3 separate regions of the Homo sapiens genome follow, and all the other regions are linked to region 1. The links are contacts of gene promoters, found by promoter capture Hi-C in human tissues and cell types (Jung and others, 2019). All regions are on one chromosome and are shown on one strand. The core of a region is centred on a gene start or on the middle of the fragment in contact, and the rest is flanking DNA. Distances in the headings are between cores, read along the strand shown. Region 1 holds the start of SNX6 (sorting nexin 6). Region 2 overlaps PRORP (protein only RNase P catalytic subunit). Region 3 holds the start of PSMA6 (proteasome 20S subunit alpha 6).

Evidence for each region. The method cuts DNA at HindIII sites, captures the fragments that hold promoters and counts their contacts. A contact is called where the count stands out against the background at its distance.
Region 2: a contact is called between a fragment that was not itself captured here and the fragment with the promoter of SNX6 in region 1, in 1 of the 25 tissues and cell types used here (adrenal gland).
Region 3: a contact is called between the fragment with the promoter of PSMA6 here and the fragment with the promoter of SNX6 in region 1, in 1 of the 25 tissues and cell types used here (mesendoderm cells).

What each region holds. Positions count from the first base shown.
Region 1 is chr14:34,628,699-34,631,398 of GRCh38, reverse strand. It overlaps SNX6 (sorting nexin 6), which reads left to right and starts at 1,251. Exons shown (of 14, transcript NM_152233.4): 1 at 1,251-1,288; 2 at 1,445-1,492. The coding sequence starts at 1,283. RefSeq lists an enhancer at 928-977 and a silencer at 1,148-1,497. The HindIII fragment of the contact is 20,741 bases long and covers 1-2,700 here.
Region 2 is chr14:35,219,281-35,221,980 of GRCh38, reverse strand. The region is part of intron 5 of PRORP (protein only RNase P catalytic subunit); the gene reads right to left. All of the region lies in intron 5 of PRORP-PSMA6 (PRORP-PSMA6 readthrough), which reads right to left. It also overlaps the pseudogene MRPL57P8. Among named protein-coding and RNA genes, the nearest start is that of PSMA6, 72 kb to the left of the region's middle. The HindIII fragment of the contact is 6,682 bases long and covers 1-2,700 here.
Region 3 is chr14:35,290,846-35,293,661 of GRCh38, reverse strand. It overlaps PSMA6 (proteasome 20S subunit alpha 6), which reads right to left and starts at 1,280. Exons shown (of 7, transcript NM_002791.3): 1 at 1,110-1,280. The coding sequence starts at 1,185. The region is part of intron 9 of PRORP-PSMA6 (PRORP-PSMA6 readthrough); the gene reads right to left. RefSeq lists enhancers at 817-876, 957-1,076, 1,197-1,276, 993-1,579. The HindIII fragment of the contact is 27,585 bases long and covers 1-2,816 here.

The sequences.
Region 1 (2,700 bases), core at 2-2,501:
ACTCGGGAGGCTGAGGCAGGAGAATGGCGTGAACCCTGGAGGTGGAGCTTACAGTGAGCCGAGATCGCACCACTGCACTCCAGCCTGGGCGACAGAGCGAGACTCTGTCTCAAAAAAAAAAAAAAAAGAGGTATGAAGGACAATCAATTGTAGAAGCCATAGGATTTGGTTGGATATGAGGAGTAAGGGAGATAAGGATTTATTTCTTTCTTTTTTTGAGACAGAGTCTTGCTCTGTTGCCCAGGCTGGAGTGCAGTGGTGCAATCTCGGCTCACTGCAACCTCTGCCTTCCAGGTTCAAGCGATTCTTTTGCTTCAGCCTCCCAAGTAGCTGAGATTACAGGCACGCGCCACCACGCCCGGCTAATTTTTGTATTTTTAGTAGAGACGGGGTTTCACCATGTTAGCCAGGATGGTCTCAAACTCCTGACCTCAGGTGATCCGCCCGCCTTGGCCTCCCAAAGTGCTGGAATTAGAGACGTGAGCCACAGCGCCCGGCCCCTAGAGTACGGATTTCAATGGGTTAAGGGTTTCTGGTCTGAACATCTGAAGATGCCTTTCCTTAACTGAATGCAAGCTCAGGAACGTGTAGATTCTAGGATTAAGTATGATTTTCTCCCGTTATTTGAAATGCCTGTGGATCCCGTGTGATGCTAACCACCTGGACAGTTAGAGTAGGTGTGGGGAAATTTCTTCTAACAAAGGAAAGGAATATTTTTGTAATGAAAACAGCTCATTTTTATAGTTCGCAACCATTAGTGCCCCAAACTCTGAGGTAGTTATTACCTCGCCAGCGGTAAAAGCTTGATTATAGTCCCTGATTACCGACTGTGTGAAGGTCCTTGTTTCCAGCAACTTCCATAGGCAAAATGATATTAATTGTGATTAATTATCGTGTGGCATAATACAAAGACCAGATGATGTATTATGGCTTCCGGAGGGCGCCTGCATCGTTTTTCGCTGGAGCCCTCGGGGCAGGGGAACTGGAGAGCTCCCTGGGTGGCCTTTGGCCCTTCCCTGGTCAGAGCCCGCCAGCTGCGAGGTGCCCCCAGCCATGAGGTCTGGGTCTTCAGGCTCTCCCGACTTCGGTGCCTTGACCTTGGGCAGAAGGCCCTGTTAACCTTCCTCGCTCACGGACTCGAGCGACCAGCGCCGGGGACGGGGCGGGCCGTCCTTAGGCCCCGCCCCTTCGCCTCCGCCCCGCCCCGCCCCGCTCCTGGCCGCCGGCTCCCTCCGGCAGCAGGGAGATGCGCGCCTGCGCCGGCCCTCGCCTCGGAGCAGCCATGATGGTGGGTGTTCTCCGCGGCGCCGAGTCCCGGGAGCGCGGTGGGGGCAGCGGGCGCGGGGCGGGCGCGGGGACCGCGCCAGCCTGTCACTAATGTCTCCCTTTGTGTCTCCCCCATCTCATCCTTTTCCCCGGCGCGCCGTGCCCGCCGACCCCACAGGAAGGCCTGGACGACGGCCCGGACTTCCTCTCAGAAGAGGACCGCGGAGTAAGTTCTGCCTTCCTTTCGCTCGCGGGACCCTGGACCCTCCTTCCCCATCCTGGGTCCCCGGGTGTGGTACGGGGATGGGTCCCCAGCCGCGCGGCACTCCCTCCCCGTAGTCCTCCTTTCGGTTTCCTCGCTGCACCGCGCCCCACCCTCCCGCAGCCCTTCCTCCCTAGGGGCCGCTCGGCTCCGATTCCCGGGGACCCGCGGCCGCTTTCTTGTCCCCCGCCGCTGTTCGGGCCTTCTGGTGGACCTCCACTCCCACGCGGGGCGGGGTGCAGGTGGCGAAGTGGAAATGGAGGCGGGAGATGGAACGCCCCCACCCTCCCTCGACACTTTGGGGCCATGAAAACCCATTCTCGGACCTTCCCAGCGGCACCCTCAATTTTCACCCGGTGTGGACATCTCGAACTTGCTCCCGCCCACCCTTCTGTCTCTCTCAAATAGTACAGGTGTAGTCTACATTACCATTTTGCAAGGATTTTTATAGTAGCCGAATCAACTCCTGTCCAGTGCCCTACTAGATTATGCAAAGTGCAGGTAGCCCATGGTATCTTTACTTTTTCTAATATCCAACAAATCCTGTCTTTGGCAGGATTTCCTTGGTGTTTTATTCCCCCTTAGCTTCTTTGAGGTATATTGACAAATACTGTTGATAATTGTATATACTTAAGGTATACATTATATTTTAATACACGAATACATTGTGAAATGAGTACCAAAATCAACCTGACATATCCATCACCTCACCTAGTTACCATTTTTTTTTGTGTGAGAACATTTGAGATCTAAGCAAATTTCAAGTATGTACCCTTTGACCAACATCGACGCTCCACCCACTCACCCCCCACATACACACTCCGCCAGGCCTTTGATAACCTCCATTCTGCCCTTGGTGTTCTGAGGTTAGTTGCATTCTACTTCAGAAAGAGCCTTCCGGGCTCTGATTCCTCCCTCCCACCCCACTCTCCACCCCCTTTTTCCTTGGCTGAAGGGTGGTAATCTTTATAGTCCCTTGTACAAGTGAGCACTTGGAAAATGTTGATATATGATAATTACCATTCAGCAAGGTTCCATGGTTCCTTCACATTTCACAGCCTGCACTTCAGTTTTCCCTTTTGCTTTTTCTTATCCGTTTTAATGTGAGAGAGACATCTGTTAGTGCATATTTGGTAGGTGATAAAATATTGTGGGATGTTATTGCTGTTTGT
Region 2 (2,700 bases), core at 39-2,538, 590 kb before region 1:
ACAAGTGAAGTGACTGAAAAAAATAGTTACTTCCGATGAATTCATTTTGCTACACCTGGATAAATTTTGTCCTCAGATACCAAAAAGAAAGCTTGCATATATTAATATACAACCACTACTGGTTATCTGTAAAGAAGGGAGAAAGGGAAGAATAGAAGTCTGAAGATAAACAAACATGACTGTGATTTTCAAAAACGAAGAGAATATGGTTCTTGAATACCAGAACAACCGCTCAGAAAAGGGGCATGACCATGGGAGGCCAGGTCATAGTAGGATACTAACTTCTGCTGCCACCACTGTGAAATGTCTCTAACCACATTTATGCTCCAGAGTCAAAGCCCCAGGAGACAGCACAACTGGCCAAGCATAGATTTTGTGTTTATGTCCTGGTTGTAGGGCTGGAGCCAGGGTGAGGTGACTAAGGCACTCGTTTTTGGCACACAATTTAAAGGAGCACCAACAAACTCCCCAATCAAGACAAACAATATTTCAAAAAATCAAAACTAATGCCAAAAAAAAATCCATGTTGAAATACAATAGAAAAATTTAAAGAAAGACAGAATCAACAGCAGTGCCATACCAAGCCATATTAGAGCTTGAGGCAAAAGGGAAAACCAATTATACTGATCATGTCTTTCTTTAAGGTTTTGATATTTTATTCATCATGGATTTTTTTGCATCAATTATGATTTTAATAAACAATGCATTAAAATATTCTTTATCTTAATTATAAGTTTTTTGGTATCCCCTTAAATGTTACAGCTGAGTCAAGTGGCTCACTCTCCTCACCCTAGTCCCAGTCCTGCACAATTGCCTGGAACCACCTTGCGTTCTCCCCTATGGGAGGCAAGGCTCTAAAACAGGAAGTGGATGGATGAGGATGCTGGGCTGCCAGAAACCCAGCTAATATCTACTACAACTTGTGGGCATTTGTACTGGCTGCTCCCTCTGCCTGGAATGTGAATCTGTCCTGCCTCCCCAGTCTCTTCTTGATCTTCAGGTCTTTAACACTGGCTTAGGAATCTCTGCTTGTGCTCCCTTAGATCCTATACTAAACATTATCCAAATACTTATCACAGTGTCTTGCAATTTATTTGTTTACATCCTCCCCCAGATTATAATCTTAGATGACATGGATTCTAGTATACTCATCCCTGCATCATTCTAATACCTACTAGACTGCCTGGCACATATTAGGCCCTCAATAAATATTTGCTGAATGAATAGAATAAAAGCCATGTCATGGGGAATAATTAAAATTAAAGGTGTTGATCTTGGAAAAGAACAGACTCAGGAAAATATAGTAGTTGTCTTCATCTGAATGGCTATCATGAGGAAGACTGAAATTGCTGTTCCTCAGTCTTTTTTGTTTGCTCCCAACCCTCCTGGAGGGGATTCATTACATTTCCATCACAACTGGCTCACAATGTCATGAACTGTTCATTAAGTCTGAGGTTTTGCGGGGCTGGTGTTAGAGAGGATCTTACACCTCCTATAATGCCGTGTCAGAATGGTGGAGAGGCAGTGCATGTGTTATTCTCCCTCAACCTGAGAATCATGGGACTAGTCTTTCTTAACCCCTATTAACTGTGCAGGAGAGATCTAGAATGTGTTCTCAAATATTATACCAGAATAGATTTAGCTCAATAGAATGAATAATTTTTAACCTTTAGAGTTGTTCATAAACAGCATATATTGACATAAAATGACGAATGTGTCATGACTACAAACCTGAAACTCCTTGTTTGGAGTGTTGTAAAGTGAATCTGGTAGAAAGGAAAGTGAGATAGGGGACATGGTGGTATAATGGGTTGAAGGGTGAACTTCAAAAATATATGTTTATGTCCTAACACCCAGAACTTGTGAATGTGACCTTATTTGGGAAAAGGATCTTTTCAAATACAATCAAGTTAAGGACTCAAGATGAGATCCTCCTAGACTACCCATGTGGGTATTAAATCCAATGACCTTTTGAGACAAAAAGAGACAACACACAGAGAAAGCAGTTGTGAGAAGATGGCGGCAGGGAATTTAGACAAGTAGACTTTAAGACCTTCTAAATTTAAGAAACTTTTTTCTAGCCATTTCCTGCCTGGCAGAAAACAAACAAACAAACAATTCAAAAAATAGAGTCCATGTGGGAAGCTACCACATGGAAAGCTAGTAAAGTTTTTCTGCAGTGTTTCCAGAAACTGACACCTCTACTCTCTAGACAATAGAGAGGTGTATTTTGATACAAGCAAATATTAAGTAGGCATACAAGAATTTGCCAGTATAAATTAACTAGCAATGTTATAAATTTCTCAGTACCAGCCTATCTCTAACCAATGCATGAAGCTGTGTCCAACATGTAGGGTGCCATTAGGCACCCCCAAATGTCATGGTCACTTAGAGAATGACAGCAAATCCAAATCATGCAGGTAAGGGGCAAGGTATGCTTTTTGAGTGGCCACCAAATACTTTTCAAGTACTCAGGACCTAAACACTGTCACATGTGGGCCAACAGTTTTCATAAATGCTGCATGTCCCTTTGTAGAAAAAATGTCTCCATAGGCCTATCTCACCTACCTTTAGCTTGCTATTAATTTTACAGAATGGGCTTAGAAAATCTGAGTAGGAAGGCAGCAGAAGGCCCCACCCTGAGGTGGGCATGTTTCCACCATGCAGAGAGTCCTAAGGGGCTCGGCCACATGCACCATG
Region 3 (2,816 bases), core at 31-2,530, 660 kb before region 1:
AAGATGTTTCTTGCTACATTATATACACTATGCAGTAATACACTGAGCAGTTTCATTCCAAGTTATCTTTAACTCTATTTCTAAAATTTACAGGTGAAGAGAACCTCATTTACAGACCAACTCTCTCCTTATGATTCCAAGCACAGATGATTATATTACTGTGCAAGACACGGAGCCACTAAACTCATTCAAAAATAAAACCATCACGGACCAGATGTAAATCAAGCCCTCCTGACACTAAATTCTCTATGGTAAGAGATCAAGGGTCTGGCTTATAATCATAACCTAAACCTTGACACCGTTTCAGCGCAATACATTACTATTCCGAGTAACTGATAGTTTCTTTCCACTACAGGTGTTCTTCAGTAAACTAGTACACAGTACCTCATCTACAACTCAGAATCGGCATTTAAATTACAGGAGCATTCAAACAGATGTGGGTAAAAAGGGGATGCCAATCTCAAGAGCAGCTCTAGAATTGAGTCACTCATTCTATCAGATTCCCAAAGATGTCTTGAACTCTGTAGATATTTGTAAATTGGCACTTTTAATTTTTTTTATCCGTTTGTTTAACGTATCTGTCACTCTAAGCTGTGAGCTTCAGTATAGAAGAGGGTGTAACATTCACATTTGTATCTCCTAGGACTAGCAGTGTCTGGTATATAGCAGGCTTCGAGTGCCTGTGTGGAATTAACCACAGAAGTCCATGCTGCAAACAAAGGAAAACGGAGAGGAGGCATTTTAGTTGAGACGTTAAGGAATCAATTACCCTTTAGAAACAGACCTTGTGCCTGGCCAGGACAGAATACAATAACTGAAGGGGCCTCACGAAGCCGGAGTCAGGCATTACAGCCCTATCTTCCTTAACTCTCCATTGGGTCTACGCAGTGTGGCCGCTCGCCCTGCAGAGACAGGCCTTCAGGCCCCCGATCCCTGCGTCCAGACGGGGGTGCAAACACCACAGAGCTCAATCCAGCTTCAGCCGTTCTCCCTTCCCAGCTCCAGCCCAGCTTCGGCCCCAGACTAAACCCGGGCCGCGTCTGCTCGCTCCAGGCACGTACCATGACAGGGCAATTCAGGTGGCCCACAGGCGAACCTGGTTCACTCACCTACTTGGTAGAGCCGACCCTCGGGTGAAAAAATGGTAATGTGGCGGTCAAAACCGGCGCTGGAACCACGGGACATGTTGGTAGAAGCACTACTTTAAACACAATCCCTGGGCCCCGTAGCTCCCGCACCAGGCACACAAGCACCTCCCGGAAGTTGCAGCGACTGCTTCCGGGGTACCAGCCGCGTTTCTTCCGCTCTTGCATGCCGAACTCACGGCTCTGGAGCCAGTTCGAGCACTGAGCTCTGAGGCCCCGCCCCCTAAGGGGGTGGTGGAGTGAGGGCGGGAGGCCTTTGAAGGTATGCGCCTGCGCCAAGCAGGCCTCTTGAGTGGATAGACGTGAAACTTGGGTCGTGGCGCTTTCAGGCTTTCATCTGGAGAATGAATTGACTATAGCAAGGACGAAAAGGCTTCCTGGGGGCCCAGAATAGCGATTTGCCTATCAGTGTGACCTAAATAGAACGTGTAATTAACAAGTCTCTTACATGCATCCTGTGTCTGGTCAGACTGCTGGCTTGCCTTCTTCCTAACCTCTTTTATCCTCCACTTTCATTCCTATTACGGGGGAAACAGGTTGCAGCTGCAGCTGCAGCCGTTAAATTTAGGCACTGAAGGAAGCGGGTTCAAGCAGCCGCTGGAAAGAACATTATTTTCTGACAGCCAGGCAAGATCTTCTTTTGGCCAGCAGCCCCGACAATTTTTAGTCTTTTTTTTTTTTTTTTTTTTTTTTGAGACAGAGTTTCGCCCTTGTTGCCCAGGCTGGAGTGCAATGGCGCGATCTCGGCTGACTGCAACCTCCCCCTCCTGAGTTCAAGCGATTCTCCTGCCTCATCCTCCCGAGTAGCTGGGATTATAGGCGTGTGCCACCAGGACCGGCTAATTTTGTATTTTTAGTAGAGGCGGGGTTTCGCCATGTTGGTCAGGCAGCTCTCGAACTCCTGAGCCCAAGTGATCCACCTTCCTCGGCCTCCCAGAGTGCTGGGATTACAGGCTTGAGCCACAGTGCCCAGGCAATTTTTAGTCTTGAAAGCGGAGGCCGGGCGCGGTGGCTCACGCCTGTAATCCCAGCACTTTGGGAGACCAAGGCGGGCGGATCACGAGGTCAGGAGATTGAGACCATCCTGGCTAACACGGTGAAACCCCGTCTCTACTAAAAAATACAAAAAAAATTAGCCAGGCGTGGTGGCGGGCGCCTGTAGTCCCATATACTTGGGAGGCTGAGGCAGGAGAACGGCGTGAACCGGAGAGGCGGAGCTTGCAGTGAGCCGAGATCATGCCACTGCACTCCAGCCTGGGCGACAGAGCGAGACTCCGTCTCAAAAAAAAAAAAAAAGAAAGAAAGCCTAACTCCAGCCTGGCCAACATAGGAAGGCCCCGTCTCTACAAAAAATAAAATTAGCTGTGCGTGGTGGCGCGCGCCAGTAGTCCCAGCTACTCGGGGGGCTAAGGTGGGAGGATGGCTTGAGCCCAGGAGATCCAGGTTGCAGTGAGCTATGATCACGCCACTGCACTCCAGCCTGGGCGACAGAGGAAGATCTATCTAAATAAAAAAAAAAAAATGTGGAACTGAGGTTGAAATACGAGTAATGGGGAATGAGGTTAAGCACCCTTGATTAATAATGAACTAGAGCTGAGGGGATGGGGCTTAGAGCAGCTAGTGTTGCATGGATTAATGAGAGTAATTCCAAGCTGGCGAGGTAGCTCCGGG